Linked DNA regions of Homo sapiens: regions 1, 3 and 4 are each linked to region 2. Evidence: promoter capture Hi-C in 16 types of primary human blood cells and fetal thymus (Javierre and others, 2016). All regions are on one chromosome and are shown on one strand. The core of a region is centred on a gene start or on the middle of the fragment in contact, and the rest is flanking DNA. Distances in the headings are between cores, read along the strand shown. Region 1 overlaps LOC101928146 (a long non-coding RNA gene). Region 2 holds the start of BLOC1S5 (biogenesis of lysosomal organelles complex 1 subunit 5). Region 3 holds the start of TFAP2A-AS2 (TFAP2A antisense RNA 2). Region 4 overlaps MIR5689HG (MIR5689 host gene).

Region 1 (6,007 bases), core at 1,434-3,933, 2.4 Mb after region 2:
GCACCACAGCACTCCAGCCTGGGCAACAGAGCTAGACTCCGTCTCAAAAAGCAAAACAAACAAACAAAAAAACCTGTTTTAGCAAGTCTTCAACATTAGTGATTAGGGGTAGAATTTGAAGTTTCCAGGTTACTGTGGCAGTGTGTACACCTGATTAAACACTACTCTTCCAGCTAATTTGACAGAAATGCAACAATATATTAAATATGGAAGGAGAGGGGCAGGTGATGGGAGAGAGAAGTTGTGAAAAGCCCCACAATGTGTCCTCATCCTGGAGACACTGAGTATGTGCTTGAAAATAGGCTGGTTCCATCGTGTAATGGTTAGAACTCTGGACTCTGAAAATAGGCTGATGTATTGGACTAACCTGTAATTGTGAGAAATAATTTATTTGCAGAAGATAAAAGACTTAGAGGACATTTATAAATATAAATGTTATTAGAATTAGGTGACCTTCAAAGGAGTACTGAATACGCCTGTTGGTTTTGGTCACAAAGTTTCCCAAATCATTTTTGTTTTGCTTCGATTATATTTACCTAATCCTGATAAGTTTCACCCGAATGAATAAATGTTATCGCTCTGAGCTTCAAAGTGCAAATATTTTACCAGCCTCATTGAAAAGCACAAATATTATCTTTAGCATAGATTGGTTTCTCAGGGTAGAAAACTGCATATAAGAACAAATCTCATGAAGTTAAGGTTATCTCATTCCCTATTTAATTTGTCCTTTAGTTGAATAGTGAGTTAGAGCTAGAGACATGCTTATAAAATTTTGTTTTCTGATGTCTTCTCTGTAGGACAAATGGAAGGAAAGATTTTTGGAAGCAGCTTCTTGTGTCCGACCCGCTGTGATCAGCTGCTACTCCCAGGTCTGGGGTTAGATGGCTTTGTGACTTTCCTTCTCTGGATGGCATTTTGCTTTCCTCTGTAAAATGGTGTGATGAATGAGATGACCTCTAAGCCTCTTTCCATGTCTGTCACTGGACTGTCCTCTTATGTAGCCATTTAAGTTTTCTAATTAAAAAAAAAAAATTTAAAATTTGATGCTCAGTTAAGTTACATCAAAATAATTAAAATGAAACTACAGGTTGAGTATCCCATATCCAAAACGCTTGGGACCAGAAGTGTTCTGAATTTCAAGTTTTTTCTAGGTTGGAAAATTTGCATATACATAATGAGATGTCTTGGGGATGGGACCCAAGTCTGAACATGAAATTCATTTATATTTCATATACACCTTATGCACATAGCCTGGAGATAATTTTATACACTATTTTAAATAATTGTGTCCAAGAAGCAAAGTTTTGGCTGCTGTTCGACTGAGACCCATCACATGAAGTCAGGTGTGGAATTTTCCACTGATGGTGCCACATTAACTCTCAAAAAGTTTTGGATTTTGGAGCATTTCAGATCTCAGATTTTCAGACTAGGGATGCCGAACCTCTATGTAATTTTGCTTTGAATGTGTCTGGGACACTGGGGAAATTTTGATTTTTAAGATTCATCTCTAATTCTGAAAATAACCTGGTTGGGTGCAGTGGCTCACGCCTGTAATCCCATCATTTTGGGAGGCTGAGTTGGGCAGATCTCCTGAGGTCAGAAGTTCGAGACCAGCCTGGCCAACATGGTGAAACCCTGTCTCTACTAAAAGTGCAAAAATTAGCTATGCATGGTGGCACACACCTGTAGTCCCAGCTACTTGGGAGGCTGAGGCAAGAAAATCGCTTGAGCCTGGGAGGCAGAAGTTGCAGTGAGCCAAGATCGCGCCACTGCACTCCAGCCTGGGTGACAGAGGGAGACTTCGTCTCTAAATAAATAAATAAAATCTAAGTGATGGCACGTCACCCCGGGGCATCTTTCCACTTTCACATTCTCTCCTGGCTGCTTTACCTGCCCTGCCAGCACAGTCCAGAGGGCCCCCACTAGCATTCCACATGCCAGGCCTTGCTTAGATGGAAGGCCTTTTCTTCCATCTAATCTAACCTGTCTCTTGTCCCATTTTTCCAGAACCTCTATTGGATGGCATTTTCTAGAACCTCTATTGGTTACTTACGGCATAATGAGATATATAGAGGTTATTGCTAGGTCATCCTTCTTGACTCAAATCTCATTTAAGCAATTAGCTTCCTTATGAAACTTCATAAGGGTCATTGTGGATCCCTTGGCTGGCTGATGGGGCTGAGATCTTGGGATAGGCAGGTTTTTCCTTGCGCCTCGAATGCCACGTTGAATACTCCTCATGTCTTTGGAGACATGTCCTTCCCTTCGAGCTGCTCCCAGTCAGGTGAGGAATAAAATGCTATGATGGCGTGAAAATTCTCCCTTGGTCTCATCCATAGATTTGCAATCACCTAAAAAAAAAAAAGGAAGAGTGTGCCAAGCCACCCCATATAGAGCCACTGTGTGGCAGCACTGCCTCTCGCCAAAGCTTGGGCCACTCGGTGTCAGGCAAAGTGCAGTGGGGTGAGTTTCCAGTTCACTGGCGGTACAGGTAGCCCCTAGAAGCGATCGTGTGCAGTGAGAATAGCTAGCATTTCAGAGTGTTCACTATGCGTGAATACTGCTCAGAGTGCATTCTACTTATTAACACATCAACTCACAAAACAGCCCTACTGGTATTATCTTTATTTTACTGACAAAGAAATTAAGACAGATAGGAAAAGTGATTTGCCCAACGTCACACAACTAGGAACTAGCAAAGCCAGGATCTAGACCCACGCAAACCTCTCTTTGAAGCTCATGCTTTGCTACCAAATATCGTGTCATTCTGGCATTCACGAGGAAATCTTGAAAATAAAGCAAAAAGTTGTAAAATGGTATCAAGTCCACAATCGCTGTCTTGATGTAGTGCAAGCACAGTGGTATACAAGGGACATCCGTAGATACAGAGGAGAGGGTCAGCAAACCTTCTCTGGTAAAGGCCAGATGGAAAACATTTTAAGCTTCGGTGGTCAGATGTGGCAACAACTTAGCCCTGCCATTGTAACGTGAAAGCAGCCATAGGCCCTGTGTAAACAAATGAGGACGGCTGTGTTCCAATAAAATTGTATTTATGGACACCGAAATTTGAATTTCATATAATTTTCATGTGTCACAAAACATTTTTCTTCTTTGGATTTTCTCCCAACCATTTTAAAATATAAAACCATTCTAGCTGAGAGATTGTCTAAAAACATGCAGCGAGCCAGACTGGACCCCCCCAGCTGTGGTTTTGCTGATCTCTGGTATAGAGGAAAGAAGGGTGGCTAAACTTAATTCGGTGAGTGCCTACCATAAGCAAGGTGTTGAAAGTGCAGTGACCAGCAGACCGAAATAGTTCTCCATGGGACATTATGTTGAGTGAAATAAGCCAGGCACAGAGAGACAAATATTGCATGATCTCACTCATGTGGAATCCACATAGAAGTAGAGAATAGAACAGTGGTTACCAGAGAATGGGAAGGGAAAGGAGCAGGGGGGTGATGAGAGATGGATCAACAGGTGCCAAGCTATAGATAGAGAGGAAGAATAAGCTCTGGAGTTCTACTGCATAGGAGGAGGATTACAGTTAATAATAATGCATTGTATATTTCAAAATACCTGGAAGAGCAGTTTTTGAATGTTCTGATAACAAACAATAAATGTCTAAGGTGATGGATATGCTAATTACCATGATTTGATCATTACACAATGTATACATGTATTGGAACATCATGCTGCATCCCATAAATACGTATAATTACCACCTGTAAATCATACATTTAAAAATAAAATATTAACTTTTTGTTTTAAAAATAAATAGTCCTCCATGGACTAGTGGTAGAGCAAACAAACAAGCAATTGTAGGAGTACAAGGTTTTATTAGGGCAGGTGAAGGGCTTCTAACCCAGACTTGGAAGAGCAAGGAAGGGTCACCAGGGAAGCAGTGTCACATAGGGACCTGAAAGATGAGTAGGAACTCAAGACAAGGCAGGGGGAGAGAATATTCCAGGTAGATGGCCTATGCAGTGAGAAGAGATAAGCTTGAGGCTAGGCACAGTGGCTCATGCCTATAATCCCTTTGGGGGGTCAAGGAAGGAGGGTCCCTTGAGCCCAGGGGTTCAAGACCAGCCTGGGCAACATAGTGATACCCCGTCTCTACAAAAAAACGATTTTTATTTTTTTATTTTATTTTATTTTTTTTGAGACGGAGTTTCACTCTTGTTGCCCAGGCTGGAGTGCAATGGTGTGATCTTGGCTCACTGCAACTTCCACCTCCCGAGTTCAAGCGATTCTCCTGCCTCAGCCTCCCTAGTAGCTGGGATTACAGGCATGTGCCATCATGCCCAGCTAATTTTGTATTTTTGGTAGAGATGGTGTTTCTCCATGTTGGTCAGGCTGGTATCGAACTCCCAATCTCAGGTGATCTGCCTGCCTCGGCCTCCCAAAGTGCTGGGATTACAGGCATGAGCCACCTCGCCCGGCCCCAAAAAAAATTTTTTTAAGGCTGGGTGAGGTGGCTCACTCCTGTAATCCCAGCACTTTGGGAGGCCTAGGCGGGTGGATCACCTGAGGTCAGGAGTTCAAGACCAGCCTGGCCAACATGGTGAAACCACTTCTCTACTAAAAATACAAAAATTATCTGGGCGTGGTGGTGGGTGCATGTAATCCCAGCTACTTGGGAGGCTGAGGCAGGAGAATTGCTTGAACCTGGGAAGCAGAGGTTGCAGTGAGCTGAGATCGCACCATTGCACTTCAGCCTGAGCAACAAGAGTGAAACTCTGTCTCAAAAAAAAAGAAACAAAATCTTATGTTTAATTAGGCAAGCAATGTGGCTGGCACCTGTAGTCCCAGCTACTCAGGAGACTGAGGCAGGAGGATGGGTTGAGTCCAGGAAGTTGATGTGGCAGTGATTGCACTCCAGCCTGGGCACAGACCCAGACCCCAACTCTAAGATAAGAAGAAGAAGAGTTAGGTTTGAAAACCCCAGGCTGCCATTAACTCATTACTGGATATCAGGCAAGCTAGCATATCTTTGGGCGTAATTTCTTCATGTGCAAAGTGGATATAATGTCAATGCTTACCTCTCAGGCCATCAGTGAGAAAATGGAGACAAAATGTGATAGAATAGTCGTTATGGGTCATTGTCAGTGTTCTTTATTTGTAACTGAATCAATTGGTGAGAATAATCTGCAAGATTCCTTTCAATCCTGAAATACTATAAATTCTTGATCTTTATTTTTAAGTAAAGAGACCCCACTATCGAGGAGTTCTGGGTGCTGTCCACGTAAATGGTGACCTACTTCAGGACAACTGTGATTGCCTGAAGTTGAAGAAATATAGTGTCCCTTGCATTCAAAGGTGACATCAGTGATGGTGATGGTGGCTCTGCATGGGAAAAAGAGGTGCCAAATGAACACACATTCCACCTGTACTCCACATGGGAAAAACACCCTGAGCTGGCAGCTGTGGCCGATTTGCTAGGGTCTTAATTTGTGGTTGACCTAGACAGAGGTGCCCAACTGTGCCTGGCTTTTGTGAAGTGGTCAGCTGGCCCCACTGGCTCATGTTCAAAGAGTCACCTGATTTTTTAAATAGAAGAGCTACCGACTTGTGGTTGATCCTCCTTCTTTTAAGTAAATGGTCATATTGCACTTCTTGCTGCAAATAAGTTGCTAGAGCACATTTCTCAAGTCTGGGCAGGGACCTGCAGACTGACTTCAGCAATGGCATAAAATCAGGTGAATGATGAATCCAGAAAAGACCATAGGAAAAATAAAGGTAGAGGCATTTGGGTTGGTCCTAGGGCTTATGGCCACGTCCATAACTCTTTTATTCCTGTATAGTAACTATTAGGTCCCGCAAAAATATCTTCCATGGGGGAAGATCTCAAACTCTTCAGTCCTTGCAGAAGTGTGTGGCATGATTGTGACAGGCAAGAAAATGTTCTTGGATGAAAATATACCAGTGACGCCATTGAGAAATAATAACCTGCCAGCGATACTTGATCCGAAATCACTGCATAATGGAACCTGTGTCCAAAGACGAA
Region 2 (6,387 bases), core at 822-3,321:
ACCCTAGAGCAGGCACCAGAACTTATGTATCCTGCTGTTTAGTATGGAACTTATCCCATTAAAAACAACAATTTTTACGTCTTCATCATTTTTACTTTGTATATTTTATGAACACATGAACTAAAATCCGATTTTAAAACTGGGGAATTTCTCTTCTGTATAATAACACACTAACAATTAGGGAAGTACTTTTATAAAATAAGTTTAAATACTCACTTCAAATTCTTTTACAAAATAACGAGTTTCACCTTGAATAACTGGTCTGTGATCCAAAAGCCTTGAATGAATTTCTCCAAGATCTATAAAGATAAAATGAAATTCAGGGTTAATCCATGCTAAATGGCATAATCTCTAGCTTGTTTTACTCTCTCCCTTCCCCACTAAGAGATGAAGGTTAAAATCCAGTTTAGACTATGGACTAAGAAGAAATCTCATCCACTGCCAGTGGATGTGTACACTGATACAACTACTTTTGAGAACAATCTTTCAGTATTCAATAAAGTTGCAGACATGTATACCTAGCATTTTCATGCCTAGGTATGTACCCTGGAAAACTCTTGCACAAATGAGTAAGGCCATTTATACATATTTATTACAGCATAGGTGTAATATCAAAAGAAAAAACGCAAAACACCTTAACCATACTCATACAATGGAATTCTATCAATCACCAAGTAAAAATAAATACATCAGAGTTACACTTATCAACATAAATATAAAAAATAATACGTATTTTATAATAAATATAATAAAAAAGCAAGTTTCAGAAGGATTAAAGCAATTTACATAAAACTTTAAAATATTCAAAATATTTCCTTTTGGGATATAGACAGAAGCAACAAAACTATAAAGAAATGCACAAGAATAATAAACACCAAATTCTGGATAGTGGCTACCTTGAGACGAGGGAGGGGAACTAGTGCAATTAGAGCAAGACACAGTGGGGCTTTTAGTAATTTATTTATTAAGGTGGGTGGTGAATGTTCATTGTAAGTCTCTTTTTCATAAGTCTGAAAAAGTCATTAAGAAAAGGTCTGAATTTAAGTCTTTTGGTGAGTCAGTTTATTATTCTTCTTAGTTACAACTATGTAGTTTAAAATGTAAGTCTCAAAATTCCTTGAGAAATTAAATCTAAGACAATGTATTATTCATATTCATTCACTGGCAATGTTCCCCAAATTTTTCATTTTTGCAGACATACGATGGGCAGGTTTCAATTCTCTATTTTAATGAATTTTATTAGTACATATCTTCTTAAGCATGTCAAGTAGAAAAAATAATACAAGCACTGTATATAAGCACTTTATATCTGGTATATATAAAGCACTACAACTCAACTGTCAAAGACTTTCACGCAGCAAACAGCGTTGTGAGCTTTAGGAGTCAAACCTAAAGCAGATTCTGTGAGAATCTAGGTTGTAACCTTCTCCCAGCTCAAAGCACACAGAACACATGGACATTTCTGAACGTGAATGGTTCTTTACAGTGCTATAGAGCGCCTTCGTAAGTGTATCTCACTTACTCCTCGCACGACCAGGAACAGATCGGGTAGGAGAGTGAGTAAAGCCAGTGACCCGAAGTCACTCAACTCCTAAGCGACTGCCTCCCGCCTCCCAGGTCCAATGCCCTTTCCACTACACGTCGGTGGCGAGGCTGCCCAAAGGCTCTGCGCCCAGGGGTCCTGAGCTTGCGGAATGGACGGGGGCGGGCCTGATGGCTCAGGCTGCGACAGAGGAAAGCGGGGAAACACGAAGAGTTGGGCTGGTTGGTTGTGGTGGGACGCATTTGGCGCGGGGAAAAAGGCGGGGACCGACCACGACTCCCCCACCCGCACAAACGCACGCGCGCCAGCCCGGGACCCGGGGGTCGGCCCGGGTCAGAGGGCGCCGCCTGGGAGATGAGGCTGTGCTGGGATCCACCAGGAACTATAGCCCTGACACTCCGTACCCTTGATAATGAGGTGCGCTGAGCCCGCAGTCCCCAGGGAGTCCCTCTTCTTGCTGCCACCGCCCGGGGCGGCCTCACAACCCACAGGGGTCTCTGTCCCTCCGCCACTCATCCCGACCAGTTCCGCCCACCCGCGGCCACGCTGCGCCTGCGCAAACCCGGCCGCCCTCTTACAAGGCGCGCCCGGGTTTTTTTTGTGTGTGTGTCATTACAGGGCGCCGGAGAAATTTAATCTACCCAGCGGGCGGTTCCGGAAAGGCGCCTGCCGTGTAGTCAGGCTGTGAACTGGCAGAAGCTCTTGCCGCCATGCTGGATCAGGGCGGATGCTGCTAGAATAGGAAGGTGCTTGAACTTTGGAGCTAAACTCAGAGCCCTGGTTATTTGGCTCAAAGCTGGTGCATTCCAGTACAGTTGTCCTCCCATATCTGCTGAGAATACATTCCAAGACCCCCAGTAGATTCCTGAAACTGCATATAGTACTGAACCATGTATATACTATGTTTTTTCCTGTATATACATATGATAAAGTTTATAAATTAGGCACAGTAAGAGATGAACAATTAGAACAATTTAATAAAAGTTATGTGAATGTAGTCTCTCTCCCAAAATATCTTATTGTACCGTCCTGCGGGTAATGAAACCACAGAAAGTGAAACCTCAGATAAGGGGGGACTACTGTATAGCAAAGCCAATTAGCTGGGGGCTGTTTCCCTACTATGCCATGAGTGTGGCTGACTATTCCTGCCTTTCTTTTTAGACACCTGTTTCCTAGAATGCTTCTCTTGCTCCCTCTTTCTGTTCAAGTCAGTAAACTCACGTTGTATAATAAAGAATTTGACTGGACTTTGACTCTGGTTCCTGGGAGGTACCCTCAATCCTTAGAATTTCCCAAGTGATAGAAGTGTCTTTGTTATTCATGGTGGGCCTCTGGAAATACACCTGAGTTTATGCTAATGAGATGGCTCATGGAGGGCCCAAGATGATTTCAGAATGGAGGCTGGCCACACCAGAAGGGCCGGCCAACCATGAGGGCTTAGGCTTTGAGTCACATAAGCAGGCCCACCTCTGGGGAGCAGATTGGGGCTGGAGACTGAGTTCAGCCATGTGGCCAGTGATTTAACCAACTATGCCTACATAATGGAACCCCAGTGAGTACTCTGGATGTGGAAGCTCAGGTGAGCTTACTGGTCGATAATCATTCATCAAAGTGTCAGGAGGGGGAAGCGTTCCTGAGGACACGTAAGCTTCTATTTGGGAAATCTCCCACATCTCGCCCTATACATCTCTTCATTTGGCTGGTCCTGATATGTGTCCTTTATAATAAAACTGTAATAGCAAGGAAAGCACTTTCTTGAGTTCTATGAGTCATTCTGTGAAACCTGAGGGAGTAAAGCGAATAGCAATGAAACATCATGTGTAGAGAGAAGCTGCGTGGGTGAGAACTGAGGCACCCTAGCAGACAGTGCTCAGGCCCTGGGCATATGACAGAGACAGCTGGTCAGAAGTGCAGGTGGCCTGGGAACCCCAAAGCTTGTGGCAGGTGTCTGAAGGGGAGTCTTGAGGAGGACCATGCTTTGACCTCTGAAGTCTGTGCTAACTTCGGATAGCACTGCAGTTTAACAAACACTTACATGGCACTTGCTACATGCCAGGTAATACTGTAAGTGGTCTACAAATTTGCATTCATTTAATCCTCATGGCCGGCCTTTGAAGTAGTTATTATTAATGTCCTCATTTACAGACGAGGAGGCTGAGGCACAGAGAGGTTAAATGACTGCCTGACTTGTATGTGGCAGAAACAACTGCCTCTGTGTCTCTGTGTATGTGTTTAAGCATAGGTGGTGGGTGAAGAGAGAGTGGGGAAGGGAGATTTGGAGAGAAGGGAGAGAGAAGCCATATTAACTTTAACAGGCCACATGGGCTTTTCATTTTTTCATTCAAAAACATTTAACAAATACGTTATTGAGCAGCTGCTACGTGCCCAGCATAGTGCTAGGAGCTAAGACACAGTGGTGAACAAGACTAATGCAGCCTTTTCCTTTCCTCATGCAGCCTGCAGGGGAGCCAACACTGAATAAGTACACAATTACTTTTCTGCAAGTCTGTTGCTTGTAGCCTGTGAATATGTGTTCTAGCCATTTGATTATACACTATTAAGTTGTATTGTTCTCTGGGATGGTGAGGTCCAGCATATGCCTCTGTTCTCTCTCCGCTTTTATATAAATCTTTACACTGCGGCTCAGACAGCTAGGAGACTGAGAAGCAACATTGGCAGTGCCATTTCGCCTGGCACATTCAGCTGCTATGAGTGTGTCCTTGGTCTTTGACCCATGAAATCTCAAGAGTTTTGAGGCTAAAATGGGACTCTTATCCTTTCCCTGAAGGTCTTGTATTGTCTCTTATTGTCTCTGGATTGACAAGACTTTCCCTGTATTTTTAAATGAAATTTTTATTGAGGTATTTGTAGCTTCTCATGCAGTTGTAAGAAATAATAGAGTTTCCTTTTACACTTTGCCTAGTTTCCCCCAGTGGTAACATTTTGCAAATGCTAATGTTACAACCAGGATATTGACATTGATACAATCCACCAATGTTATTCAGATTTCACCAGTTTTCCTTGTATTCATTGTGTGTGTATATGTTTAAGTTTATGCAATTTTATTACATGTAGATTTATGCATCTATCATCACAGTCAGCATACTGACCAGTTCTGATGCCATAAGGATCTCGTTAAGGTTCCTGTTTATAACCACATTTACCTTCCTCCCTGTCCCCACCCTGACTTCTGGCAACCTATCATCTGTCCTCTATTTCTAAAAACTTTTTCACCTCAAAAATATTATAGAAATGAAATCATACATTAAGTACCTTTATGTTTTTAAGAATAGCTGTACTCACATCATAACCTCTATACAAGATTGGAGAATCAATATCATATACAAATATAAGCATGGGATTGTAAAGGGATTTTTCCAATTACTGTGCTTTTTGAGACTCAAGACATCTAAATCATGGAGATATTGTCAATTTAGTAGAAGTAAAGTTCTGACTTTGGGGGAAATTTTTTGCTGTAATCCCATGTTGAATCTTTTGAAAATTAAAAAATAAATGAGTTATTACATGTATACCAAGAATAAAATTATAATTTATTCCTTAGTATAAGCCCATCAAGGGGAACCATAATTGGCACAGGGTGGGAGATAGAGGGACTCCTAAGTTTATTTTGTGTTCTATCACATCCACTCCATGAGATTTCCTCTGCAACATCTTTTATTGACATTATTTCTTATTTTTGTTTGTCTAACCTATTTTAGAAATGGGTTAAAAAATTAAAAAATGCAAAAACTGATTAAAGCAAAGGAGGAGAAAAGAGTAGGTGGTCTTGCTGGGCGTGGTGGCTCATGCCTGTAATCCCAGCACTTTGGGAGGCTGAGACGGGCGGATCGCCTGAGGTCGGGAGTTCGAGACCAGCCTGACCAACATGGAGAAACCCCGTCTCTACTAAAAATACAAAATTAGCTGGGCATGGTGGCACATGCCTGTAATCCCAGCTACTTGGGAGGCTGAGGCAGGAGAATCGCTTGAACCCGGGAGGCGGAGGTTGCGGTGACATGAGATTGCACCATTGCTCTCCAGCCTGGACAATAAGAGCGAAACTGTCTCAAAACAAAAACAAAAAAAGAGTAGGTGGTCTTTTGGGTGAGGTACTAAATATTACTGTGTAGCAATCTCATAACATTTTGGAAATGCGGCCGGGTGCGGTGGCTCACACCTGTAATCCCAGCACTTTGGGAGGCTGAGGTGGGTGGATCACCTGAGATCAGGAGTTCAAGACCAGCCTGACCAACATGGTGAAACCCCATCTCTACTAAAAATACAAAAAATTTTAGTATTAGCACCGGGTGTGGTGGCAAACACCTGTAATCCCAGCTATTTGGGAGGCTGAGGCAGGAGAATCACTTGAACCTGGGAGGCGGAGGTTGCAGTGAGCTAAGATTGCACCATTGCACTCCAGCCTGAGCAACAGAGCAAGACTCTATCTCAAAAAAAAAAAAAAAGTTTTGGAAATGCTTAGGGCACACTGGACATGAAAGCCAGTTTAGTGTGAAGTAGCACACTTTGTATTAGCATTAGCGGTCTTCTAGGCTGAAGCAATTTTATAATCCAGTGCTGAATCTTCCTGTACCAAATGCTGCTAGTTCCCCCTAGAGAAGCTTCTGGTGTAGCTCCATCATTTGGAGAACACGCAGGGCTTACTGCAAGAGCCACTAGAAAGTAACTGCTCCGGTGACAAAGCCAACCCATTGGAACACAGAATGCATTCCATCCACCACCCTGGGCACACCTTCATTAAACTGGACTCAGCTGTGCAAAAAGACAAAAGCATGAGTTGTTGTGTGCATGCAGCTAGCTCTACGTATGCCTGTCACCTAAGCTTT
Region 3 (5,940 bases), core at 1-2,500, 2.3 Mb after region 2:
CGCCCGCTCCCCCGCCCCCAGATCCCGCCCACTTGGCTCTACGCTCTTCTCCCCGCCCCCTTTCCTTTCCCGCGTAGGGAGGGCCGCGGCGCGAGGCCTGTTTGCGTCGCCGCCACCGCCCCGGCGCAAGCGCAGTGGTTCCCCCGGCCGCGGGGCGGGGCGGGCGGGGCCGTGCCGGGCCTCACCTCCGGAGCACTCCGCCCAGCAGCGACGCGTTGAGACACTCGGGTGGTGAGAGCCGCCGCTGCACTTCCGCCACCGTGACCTTGTACTTCGAGGTGGAGCTGAGGAGCGAGAGGCGACCCGGAACTGAACAGAAGACTTCGTTGGGGTTCACCACGCCGCCGAAGAGGTTGTCCTTGTTAATAGGGATGGCGGAGACGGCATTGCTGTTGGACTTGGACAGGGACACGGGGCCTGCGGAGACAGAGGGGAGGCCGCGTGTTGGGCGTCGTGGATCACCCCCAAATCCTGCCCGACCCCGGCCCTCATCCCGGCCAGGGCCGGATCCCAGGCTTTGGGCCACAGTCCCCGCTTTTCCGTCCGGCTCTGAAATTCTGTGGCTCTGCTACTTCCCTTCCTCGGGCTCGAGCCCTTCCCTACCTCACCCGGCGGCCGGGAGGCGGCCCTGCCCTCCCCCAGCCAGCCTGGCCTGCGTTTCTGCCTTGACCCTTTCCCCTTCGCCGTCAAGGGTGCTCTCTAGAGATGGGTGGTGAAATTGGTGACCCCTGAGGCGCTGAGCATCCGAGCGGAGTGGGCCCCAGATGAGGTCCAGGACCACGGGTTCAGGGTGCAGGGGAGGGAATTACATTTGCAAACCGAGAGCAAGTTACTTGTACTTCAGGGGTTTTGCTGGGTGGGGTTTTAGTGTCGGGGAAAAACTGCTTCAAAGACCCATTATTAAAATCAGCCGACAATTTAGATGGCTAAAGCACCCTGTAAACGAGCGTTTTAATTGAGGCACCACGCTGGGAAGTGGTGGATTTTGTTGTCCACACCACACGTCCCGTCTTTTTGATAAATAGGCCCTTTCCTATGTTCAATTTTGAAAACGTCTCAGTTTTGGAGATCCATTCCAAGGCCAGTTTTGAACTGCGGAGTGGGGAGGGAAGAACAGGCCTACAGTGGAATACTAGCAATGTGCCCTTTTGTTAAGTAAATACTTAACAGTCCTCTGCTAAAGCGCCTTTATTGGGAAAGTGGGTATATATACTTCCTAGTTAAAACCATAAGCTCTTTATTGCTGGACTCACCACTGTTAGAAAAAAAAAAAATAGAAGACCTGCAGAAAGTATACTAATGCATTACGTTTCTCAGCACCAGTGTAATTCAGATGCATTCACAACCATTTAAGTACAGTATGCATTGTATTTTAAAATTCCATTTGGAGACATCATATGCACACAATCTCATCACAGTGTTCCTTATGCGTTCTTTAATGGGGATATGCTAGAGGTATAGGGAGGTGGGGGGCTCTAGGTTTTGGATAGATCACTTGTGACATTAATAGCTCTGGGGAGGCTAATAGAGACAATAGGAGTTAAACGAACTCTTGAGAGATTACTAATAAAAGAGCCAATTATCATGTCGACTTGGAAAGAGCATCTCTTAAGATTTATCCCTTGCACATCTAATTTGACGTGACAAAGACTTCACAGATGCAAAAATGAAACTTTAAACTAGCTAACAATATACTGATTGGGGTTAGAAATGAGAACAGTTTTATATAGCATCGTCCTCTGGTGGTGCCTAGAATCCTGAAATGTAACATTGCCACCATAACCAAAAAAAAAGCTGCTACCAAGAGTGAATAGCATTTAATTCAGTAAACTTTATTTCTACTCACTAAACACAATACAGATTACAAATCCATGCAAATCACTTGACACTTTTCTAACAATTTCTCCTCTGAACAAGTATGCTAATATTCCTCCCATCTTCAAGATACTAATTTTAACCAAAAGCTAAAATTTTGTTAACCTAATTCACAAAGTTCTAAGACCCTTAAACAGCTAACAAGAAACTAAATTGAAGAACATGAATGTTTTTTTCCTCTACTAAAGAGTGCTTCTTATCATCTGTTCTTACATTAATGTTAAATTATTTGTACTATTTTAGCATTATACACTTCTTAACCTTCATCCAGGCAATGGATTAAACTATCAAACTGTTTCAAAATTGAAATGCCACTTCCAAATCAGTTCAACTACTGTACATTTTGTGTGTTTGTCCAAATATCATTAAACTAAATTAAATGGTCAAATCATGAGTCAGAACAAAGCTAGCCTGTTGGCATTACCAACATACTGAAGGCTGATTATTTAAGCATTGCTGTTCTGTGCCTATCTATTTGCTAATTCTGAGCCTTTAGGAAATCCTATTTGGAAAAAATAAACACATCTCTGCAAGTTCTTTTAAATAGCACTCTGCCTGTAAGGACATGCTTGGAATGCAGAAGGAAATGGCTTACCTTTCTTAATTACAGTTTGATCTGGGATGTTAATACCCGGGTCTTCTACATGCTGCAACAAAAGGATACACATGGATGTAAGTGTATCATCAAAACAAAAGGAAATGAATATTCCCTGCAAGATGGGAGGAGGGGAAGGTGTAGAATCAAAATTCCCCCTCCCGTATAATGACATTTATATATAAACATCTCATCTTGGCTTATTGGAATTTGGGGCTTTGCAACTCAAGAGGTTTCACTGCACACCCATGGCCAATTTCTCCTCCTCCAGCAAATAATCCATGTTTAAAAGGGGTGGAGATGGGGAATAAAACTTTCTTTGGAAATTAAATCAAGTGTTGGAGCACCTAATCATTCTCAGTCAGTTCAACATTTAGAAATGTACCTAGCTTTAGATTGGCGCCTCAGCGGCTTCTGACTTTAGCAATTCCAGTGTTCAGGCAGCGAAAGCCAGGGAAACACAATAGAAATGACAGGGGCGGGAGTAACAGGAGAGTGTTGGAAAAGAAAAGGTTTAGGTAGTATAATAAAGAGCAAACACACACACCTTTATGGAAAACTCCACATAAATTTTTAGAAAGACTACTGCCTAAGCCTGGGTATGATAGGAATATGAAAATGACCAAAACCAAAAAACCTTTGAGCTTGCTTTCCTGTTGTCCAACAGCAGGTTTGTTGTTAGTGTGGGGTGTTTTTCTTTTTCTTTTCTTTTTTTTTTTTTTTTTTACAGATGGATGGGTATACGTGTGCGCACTAGAGTCAAAACGTGATTAGAAAGTAAAATGAAGTCATGTTTTCTAATGCAGAAACTGACAGGCAATATAATGTCTGGCTGTGTTTACAAATTAGCACCAGGGCTGCTGAGATAGAAGATTTTGCAATCATTACCAAACACAGGCATTACCATTTAAAAAACTATTGCTTCCTTCTCTAGTCTTTGTCCAACAATAATACTGATTCGAACATTTTCCATTCTGTCTTGGATTTATGCTCCTGTTAATTGTGCCTGATCGCAATGATTCCGGGTGGATGGTACTAAGTTGCTTTATTACAGGTTTTATTATACTCAATGCTCTCATTTGTAACTTGCCTAAAGTGCTTCTGGATTTAAGTATAATTAAATTGAGAAATGTTCAGAAATGACTACTGCTGCAGTTCTTGTGTTTTAACTATATGGGGAAATATGATCCCTTTATGCATGCACCCTAAACCCATAAAGTAAATGTAGTGTGGCATAATACTTTTATTTGTGTTATTTCTAGACCTTGTCCATACAGGGAAGACTGTTAAGTTTAAAACCCCACTGAGATATTAATGATTAAATAATTTTCACCATCGATTTGATTTTCTTAAATATTTAGCAGTTATACTTACTAAAGGTTAACTGTTGCAGCAATGGGAAAAAATTGAAAACAACCTTTTTCTTGACCCAAATTCCTTTGAAAGAATTTTTTTCTTAAAAGATGGGGGAGGGAGAGGGAAAAACAGCAACTGGGTTTCCTTGTTTTTGTTTAATCTTTTAGTTAGTTTCTCCTACTGACCAATTTTGCCACAAAGAGTGAGTATACAGGTGTTAAGAATTCACCTTGAAATTTTTGCAAAGTAGAGCAATTCTCATTCACAGTAGTTCCAAAAGCTTGCAACATTATTTTGCAATTCAAATATTTTCAAAGAACAAGCAAGGAAAAGATTCAGAGTGCTTTGGGAAAGGGAACTAAAATAATCATAACTCCCAGTTCATGTTTAAATTGCTCTTATATAAATTAGTGCTCCTCTCACTTCCAAAAAAATGCACTGTTAAGTATCAGTTTCTAAAAACATGTAAGTATGAACACACATATACAGACATACAGTGCTCACTAAACCTTATACTGGATCAAGTGCCCACTTTCCTGCCTTCCATGCAAGGGCTGCTAAACATAACCAACAAATTTCAGTGACTAACTGGGCCAAATGAGAGATGTAATAAATTTTCTATTTTCCTACGGAACTTAAATAATGTTTTAAATTCACCAAGCAAGGAGGTAAGTTCATCTGACCATTTTCCTTACAATCTAATGTAGTAATCATTAAACTGTCAACGGACATACTGCTGCAATATTTGATGCAGTAATTTGAAATAGCATTTTAGTAAAAATCACATCCAGATACATTTCCTCTCCAAAGAAAAGCAGCTTTAACAGAAGCCTTTACAGCTTTAATAAAATTATTGGCTTGCTCTAATTCCATTTCAGGAGGGTTGTGAGGAAACCATAAATATATAGAATTGAAGCAGAGGTACTGGTTTAAGTTTAATTCCAGAAAGTATTTTCAAATTATCAATAGCCTGGTTTGCATTGTAAATAGTAAATGTGCTAATGCCATGCTTATTTAGAAATCATTTTAAACTGCATTTATTGATAACTAAATTAGAACTCAAATAATGTATTACCCAATAGTCTCGAAACATTTAATTTAATATGGAGTGTAGCAGGTTCTGATAGGCGTTGGGAACCTAGCTAATGATTTATGAGGTCACCACTTAGCACCCCTAGTAAGAAGAAGGCTGCATTTTAATGTCCCTCTGCTTGGATTTGCTACTTAGTTTTTCTTTAATCAGGATAGGGTGTACACATAACTTTTAGGTTTCACTTGTGCTTATAAAATCCGGTTAAAATGATCTTAGTGTGTCTTTTACACTTCCTTTTACATTTTGAGGACATTTAATGAGCTCTTTTGGTTGCATTTAACATCATTCCCAGGACAGGGAGAAATCTCCACGCCAGACTCAGCGATGGAAGTAGATCTTTTAGCAATTGAGACAGTTTACTGTCGTCGAGAGGAAGATATTGTTAATGGTGACATTCGTCTGATTTATCTGTGTTGGTGGAAATGGTAATGCAGGCATTGTTTGAGGGAGCTCCAGAAACCATTGTTCTGGGGTAGAACTCGCAACTACTTTGTGTGGTTCCTCAAAACGTCCCTCACTCTCCGCCTCCGAATAAAATGTTTTTATAAGGAAATACTAGGGAGAACCCGGGCCCACCGACTGTATGTTCCAGGTATCCTTTCTGGGGTAGGTAAGTAGGGGGCTGTGTTCCCTCCCGCGCTGGTTGCGCGGCCTCTTACCGGGACCTCCTCGATGGCGTGAGGTAAGGAGTGGATCGAGAGGTCTCCGAGTCCTGAGCTGAGCGCGTGTGGGCCGTGCAGGAGGTCCTCGTGCCGCCTGTAGTCCCTGCGAGGATCCAGGCCCGACAGCTGGTGAGGCAGCCCCCGGTGCGTGTGCAGGAGCCCAGACTCCTGGCTCTGCCTCTGGCCGGGCCAGCCTGGGTGCTGCGGCTGCGGCTGGGCGTGCAGGGGGTTCAGGCTGTAGGGGTCGTTGACGTGGGAGTAAGGATCTTGCGACTGGGGGTAGATAGGCTGGTAGGGTGGGGGGAAGTATGGGGGCTGGAAGTCGGCATTGGGGGTGTGGGACAGCGGCGGGGCGCTCG
Region 4 (6,478 bases), core at 2,699-5,198, 2.4 Mb after region 2:
GCAAATATTCACCCAAAGAGTAGAGAATGTTGAGACATTTAGCATTATGTATTAGTCTGTTCTCACAGTGCTATAAAAAAAAAATACCTGAGACTGGGTAATATATGAAGAGAAGTTTAATTGACTCAGTTCCGTAGACTGTACAGGAAGCACAGCTGAGGAGGCCTCAGGACACTTGCAGTCACGGCATGGGGCAAAGGGGAAGCAAGCACATCTTCACATGGCAACAGGAGAGAGAGCAAAGGGGGAAGCGCTACACACTTTTAAGCCACCAGATCTCATGAGAACTCACTCACTATCATGAGGACAGCAAGGGGGAAATTCTCCCCCATGAGCCAATCACCTCCCACCAGGTCCCTCCCCCAACATTAGGAATTACAATTTGCATGAGATTTGTGTGGCCACACGGAGCCAAACCATATCACATTGGTCAACCTATATAGTAATGTTTTTCTTAATCTAAATGTATACTAAGTTAGTGTTTTATCGATTTAAAAATACATCTTGAAAAGGATTTTGCAATTTACTTTTTTTTTTTTTTTGTGAGACAGAGTCTCACTCTTGTCCCCCAGGCTGGAGTGTAGTAGCGTGATCTTGGCTCGCTGCAATCTCTGCCTCCCAGGTTCAAGCAATTCTCCTGCCTCAGCCTCCTGAGTAGCTTGGATTACAGGCGCCTGCCACTACTCCCGGCTAATTTTTTGGTATTTTTAGTAGAGACAGGGTTTCACCATGTTGGCCAGGCTGGTTTCAAACTCCTGACCTCAAGTGATCCGCCCACCTCGGCTTCCCAAAGTGCTAGGATTACAGACGTGAGCCACCATGCCCAGCCCACAATTTCTTTTAAAACTAAACATATACAGTTGTCCATCAGTATCTGCAGGGGACTGGTTCCAGGTCTCCCTGCAAGTACCAAAATCACAGATGCTCAGGAATCTGATATAAAGCAGGGTAGTACTTGCATATAACCCACACACATCCTCCTGTATACTTTAAATCATCTCTAGATTACTTATAATACCTAGTACAAGGTGAAGACTATGTAAACAGTTGTTATACTGTATTTAAAAAAATAATTTCCACTTTCATTTTAGATTCAGGTGGTACATATGCAGGTTTGTTATATAAGTGTATTGCATGATGCTGAGGTTTGGAGTTCAATTGATCCCATCACTCAGATAGTGAGCATAATTATACTGTATACAGTTTAGGAAATAATAACAAGAAAAAAGTCTATACATATTCCATACAGACATGATCATCCTTTCCTCCCACCCCTTGATTTTTTATTGAATTCATGAATATTTGCTGAGTCCATGAATGTGGAACCCACGGATAGGGAAGGCTGACTGCACCTACATTATGACCTGGCAATTCCACACCTAGGTTACTCACCCGGGAGAAATAAAAGCATATGTCCTCAAAGAGGCTTGTTCAAAAATGTCCATAGCTTTATTCATAAATAACTGAAAGCTGAAAACAACCAATAGGAGAATGAATAAACTAACTGTGGTAAATTCAGACAATGAAATACTACACAATAAAAAAGGGAGGAACCGGCTGGGCGCGGTGGCTCACACCTGTAATCCCAGCACATTGGGAGGCCGAGGTGGGTGGATCACCTGGGGTCAAGAGTTCGAGACCAGCCTGGCCAACATGGTGAAACCCCATCTCTACTAAAAATACAAAAATAGTCAGGTGTGGTGGCACGCACCTCCAATCCCAGCTACTCGAAAGGCTGAGGCAGGAGAATCAGCTTGAATCCAGGAGGCAGAGGTTGCAGTGAGCTGAGATTGTGCCACTGCACTCCAGCCTGGGTGACTCTGTCTCAAAAAAAAAGGGGGGGTGGGGGGAGGAACCATTGATACATACAACATCATGATGAATTCCAAAAATGTTGTACTGAATGGAAGAAGCCTTACACAAGAAAGCACATACTGTTTATATATTTATCATCCTAGAACAAGCAAAACTAATCTATGGACTAATCTAAGGTGGGGGCAGGGGAATCCAGAGAAAGGGTTACCTTTGGGAGTTGGGCCATGGGGTTGGGGACCAGCTGTGCAGGGGAGCTTTCAGGGCAGTCTTAAGGTACTGGATCTCACCAGGGGTTTGCCTTGCTTGTATACATGGCCTTCCTTGCAACTTGCTGAATGGCACACTTATAAACTGTGCATTTTTTGTATTTAAATTTTACCTCAAAAGAAGAAGAAATCAACCAACATTGAACTCTAATAAAAGATATGCATGTTGGAACATATGGGGAGAAGTGTATTGCTGACTGCAACATACTTAGAAATGCATTAAAAAGACAAGATGCTTTGGGAGGCCAAGGCGGGTGGATCACCTGAGGTCAGAAGTTCAATACCAGGCTGGCCAACATGATGAGACCCCGTCTCTACTAAAAATACAAAAATTAGCCGGGCATGGTGGTGCACACCTGTAATCCCAGCTACTCAAAAGGCTGAGGCAGGAGAGTCACTTGAGCCCGGGAGGCAGAGGTTGCAGTGAGCCGAGATCATGCCACTGCACTCCAGCCTGGGCAACAGAGTGAGACTCCATCTCAGAAAAAAAAAAAAAAAAGACAAGATAGATTGGTGGGTGGATAAACAGCTGGATAAATGGATAAATAGTAAATGAAGTACAGAAGAATGTTTATTGTTGAATCTAGCTGGTGAGCATATGAGTGTTCACCGTACAGTTTCTTCAATTCTGAGCTATGCTTAAAAGGTTTTATAATAAAATGTTGAAAAAAATTGATCTCGAATTAGAATTAGGAGTTCTAACAAAGAGCTTCTGCTATAACTTACATATTTCTGTAGGAGGTATTCCCATGAAGTTGGGGCAGTGGGAAGGCAGAGAAGTTGCAAGGAGAAAAATCTGTCAGTAATGGAAGGCTCTTATATTGCATTCGTTTCCCAAACACTGGCATATCATAGAGCTTCAATAAAAGCTTTTTGAATGAATGAAATGAATAAGACATTCCTCAACCAATGACTGCAGAAACTATAAAGGAATGATTCTGACATGAATATTACAGAAAACTCCGTGAGGGTATATACTTAGGCCAAAGAATAAACAAGTGTCTGAAATTATCAGACTTTAATACTCATTCCAGTGAATGTTTCTAAAGGACCAAAGGGATGAAAAAGAGAAATTTAAAGTCATATCTAAGACTAGCTTTTTGACTTGACACGTGACTCAGCCACTTTTGTATTACCACTGCCATCTTTGAATTAACACTGGAGAAGTATCTAGAACAATTGTGTTTTTCTCAGAGGTTGGAGGAAACGAGCATGACTCTTCCCCAAAATGCATTACTTCTCAAAAACTTACAGGGCTATTCTCTTTTATAGGTTTTTGTTTCTGTTTTTGTTTTTGAGACGGAGTCTCGCCCTGTCGCCCAGGCTGGAGTGCAGTGGCGCCATCTCGGTTCACTGCCACCTCCGCCTCTCGGGTTCAAGTGATTCTTCTGCCTCAGCGTCCCGAGTAACTGGGACTACGGGCCCAGCTAATCTTTTTTGTAGTTTCTGAAAATTTCTTTCACCTGTAGTACATGCAGACCCTGTCTCCATTTATTTTCCTTGGCCTGTTCTTTTTTTTGACAATCTCACTCCATTGCCCAGGCTGGAGTGCAGTAGCATGAACTTGGCTCACTGCAACCTCCACTTCCCAGGTTCAAGAGATTCTCGTGACTCAGCCACCTGAGTAGCTGGGACTACAAGTGTGCGCCACCATGCCTGGCTAACTTTTGTATTTTTAGTAGAGATGGGGTTTCACCATATTGACCAGGCTGGTCTCGAACTCCTGACCTCGTGATCCACCCACCTCGGCCTCCCAAAGTGCTGGGATTACAGGCATGAGCCACCACACCCGGCCTCTTTTATAGGTTTCTATGTAAGTAACATAAAGACTCTGGCAAGCAGTTAAAGCTCTTTAATTGTTCACCATTCTGGGCACTTAGGGTTGTGTTCTTTCTTGGTTTTGGAATAGCTTATGCTTACCTCTTTAATAACAGAGTAGAATTCTACTGTATAAGAGATCCTGGGCCGGGCGCAGTGGCTCACACCTGTAATCCCAGCACTTTGGGAGGCCAAGATGGGTGGATCATGAGGTCAGGAGTTCAAGACCAGCCTGCTCAATATGGTGAAACCCCATCTCTACTAAAAATACAAAAAGTTAGCCAGGCATGGTGGTGCATGCCTGTAATCCCAGCTACTTGGGAGGCTGAGGCAGGAGAATCGCTTGAACCTGGGAGGCAGAGGTTTCAGTGAGCCAAGATCGTGCCATTGCTCTCTAGCCGGGAGACAAGAGTGAAACTCTGTCTCAAAAGAAAAACAGAGATCCTGGGGGACAAGGGTGACACCCTTTACCAGGACAAGAGGCGTATTCAGGGACAGTGGGCTGGGGTAACTCAGAAAATCAAGATGAAATTTTTTTCCCCAGAAAAATCTCAAATTTTTCTTTGTTTTAACTGATTTCCGGTTTGACACTCCACAAGCAAAGTTAATTTTTAGGAACTTCTTAAGTTTAAGGACTATGTATTAGCACTGACCATGTGTCCCGCATTTTTGATGTATCGAGAAACAAGAGGGGCTCAGCTGTTTCTTGTCTGTCTTCACAGTCAAGGCCACATACTTTTTCCTGCCTTTTTAAAAAAGTAAGCTCAATCAGAAAAGCTGAAAAATAGCACACAAACAGCCAAATACCCCTCACATGGATTTAACAACTGTTATTATTTCATCATGTTTGCTTATCTCTTGATAGATAGGTAGGTAGATAAATAGACAGCAGATACCATATTTTTTTCCTAAGCCATTTGAAAGTAAGTTGCAGATGATACGATGTATCATGCTGACACACTTCAGAATGCATCCCCTCAAAATATATATCAAGGCTAGATTTTGAAGAGAGAAGTGGTGATGCTTTTTTTTTCTTTTTTTTTTTTTTAAGCTTGACTGGGTCATTGAGAGAGACTATGTTCTGGGCATTGTATTGAAAGAAGGTAGGTTGAAGTTCAGGTAGTTTTGGAGCCTGCAAGTTTTTTGTATTTTTGTGTTTTTCAGACAGGGTCTTGCTCTGTCCCCCAGGCTGGTGTGCATTGGTGTGATCACCACTCACAGCAGCCTTGACCTCTGGGGCCCAAGCCATCCTCCCACCTCCGCCTCTGGAGTAGCTGGAACTACAGGCATGCACCACCATGCCCAGCTAATATCAGCCTGCAGTTTTGACTTGGACTTGGATTTTATAACTGGCTCAACAAAATTATATCCACTGTTAGTCTGTTTGGGCTACTATGGCAAAAATACCTGAAACTGGGTGTCTTTTAAACAGAAATTTATTTCTCACAGTTCTGAAGGCTGGGAAGTCCAAGATCAATACCTCAGCTGACTCAGTGTCTGATGAGGGCCTGTTTCCCAGTTCACAGACAGCCATCTTCTCCCTGTGTCCTCACATGGTGGAAGGGGCAAGGGAGCTCTCTGCAGTCTCTCTGTAAGGGCACTAATCCCACTCACAAGTGCTCCACCCTCATGTCCTAGTCACCTCCCAAAGGCCCCATCTGCTAATACCATCACCTTGGGGATTAGAATACCAGTGTATGAATTTGGAGGGGAGATAAGCATTCAGTCCATTGCACCCTTATTTCCAAGGCCCAGGGATAACGCTGAGCTCCTCTGTGGGTGAAGCACATTCAGCTATAAAACAGTATCTTAAGATTTTCTTCTCGAGTTAGATTTGGTACGTAGATAACGACCTTTAACTATTTGCATCTATGCAGCTTTTACTTCCACCTCCTCAACCCACTGTCTACAATTCTCACATAGAATTAAGAATAATTTTGCATAGCAGATAATTGGCTGAGCATGCGGTATTCTTTTGACCCATTCAAGTGAATAAAATACTGTATAGGAACACTGTCACAATTTAAATGAAATTAAATTTCTTGCCCCTTTTCCTCCCCCGACCATTTAGTCTTTGGGTAGCAACAGAGATCACTAACATGATATAACAATTAATGTAGTTTTGTTTCAGGGCATTAATTTGATACAAATTGTAATTCTGTTCTCATCAGTTCTGTAAATTGCTTTACTGTAATTACACCAAGTATTTGATCAAATATTGCCGATATTTCCATCTGTTTAGTGTATGGTATTATGATTTCAAAATTGATTCTAGATTTAGTCCAATAATTTTTAGAATGTCTCTTTCTATATAAAAGTCAATGCAGAAATAATAATATTTTGAGATAAAAAATAAAGGCATCTTCTAGTTAATATAACAGATTTTAGTCACATTTATATTCTTTAATGTTCAGTGTATGTATCCACTACATGAGAAACTCAAGACACAAACAAAATGGTTATATTTACTGCAACACTAAGCAATATGGAACATTAAAAAGAATATGTATTCATAAACAAGACAAAAGATGGTATAGCAACATAAAATTTACAAGAACATTATAGCTGGACTGTATAGG

Evidence for each region. The method cuts DNA at HindIII sites, captures the fragments that hold promoters and counts their contacts. A CHiCAGO score of 5 or more calls a contact.
Region 1: a contact is called between a fragment that was not itself captured here and the fragment with the promoter of BLOC1S5 in region 2, in 1 of 17 cell types (M2 macrophages). The highest score is 5.4, in M2 macrophages.
Region 3: a fragment that was not itself captured here is called in contact with the fragment with the promoter of BLOC1S5 in region 2 in 3 of 17 cell types (naive CD4 T cells, total CD4 T cells and naive CD8 T cells); the score reaches 8.4 in naive CD4 T cells.
Region 4: a fragment that was not itself captured here is called in contact with the fragment with the promoter of BLOC1S5 in region 2 in 1 of 17 cell types (M0 macrophages); the score reaches 6.1 in M0 macrophages.

Annotation. Positions count from the first base shown.
Region 1 is chr6:10,508,290-10,514,296 of GRCh38, forward strand. It overlaps LOC101928146 (a long non-coding RNA gene), which reads right to left. Exons shown (of 3, transcript XR_001743961.2): 2 at 2,054-2,351; 3 at 371-1,014. It also overlaps the pseudogene LOC100422564. Among named protein-coding and RNA genes, the nearest start is that of GCNT2, 10 kb to the right of the region's middle. The HindIII fragment of the contact is 514 bases long and covers 2,427-2,940 here.
Region 2 is chr6:8,062,318-8,068,704 of GRCh38, forward strand. It overlaps BLOC1S5 (biogenesis of lysosomal organelles complex 1 subunit 5), which reads right to left and starts at 2,072. Exons shown (of 5, transcript NM_201280.3): 1 at 1,948-2,072; 2 at 217-299. The coding sequence starts at 2,059. BLOC1S5-TXNDC5 (BLOC1S5-TXNDC5 readthrough (NMD candidate)) reads right to left here and starts at 2,097. Exons shown (of 13, transcript NR_037616.1): 1 at 1,948-2,097; 2 at 217-299. EEF1E1-BLOC1S5 (EEF1E1-BLOC1S5 readthrough (NMD candidate)) reads right to left here. Exons shown (of 7, transcript NR_037618.1): 4 at 217-299. RefSeq lists enhancers at 1,280-1,906, 1,516-1,705, 3,396-3,495, 3,506-3,655. The HindIII fragment of the contact is 8,031 bases long and covers 1-3,189 here.
Region 3 is chr6:10,404,323-10,410,262 of GRCh38, forward strand. TFAP2A (transcription factor AP-2 alpha) reads right to left here. Exons shown (of 7, transcript NM_001372066.1): 2 at 5,579-5,940; 3 at 2,471-2,522; 4 at 186-417. It overlaps TFAP2A-AS2 (TFAP2A antisense RNA 2), which reads left to right and starts at 180. Exons shown (of 1, transcript NR_145448.1): 1 at 180-3,605. RefSeq lists enhancers at 1-128, 1-541, 352-461 and a silencer at 1-221. The HindIII fragment of the contact is 5,708 bases long and covers 1-4,104 here.
Region 4 is chr6:10,441,633-10,448,110 of GRCh38, forward strand. The region is part of intron 1 of MIR5689HG (MIR5689 host gene); the gene reads left to right. Among named protein-coding and RNA genes, the nearest start is that of MIR5689, 5.2 kb to the left of the region's middle. RefSeq lists an enhancer at 1-104. The HindIII fragment of the contact is 2,000 bases long and covers 2,949-4,948 here.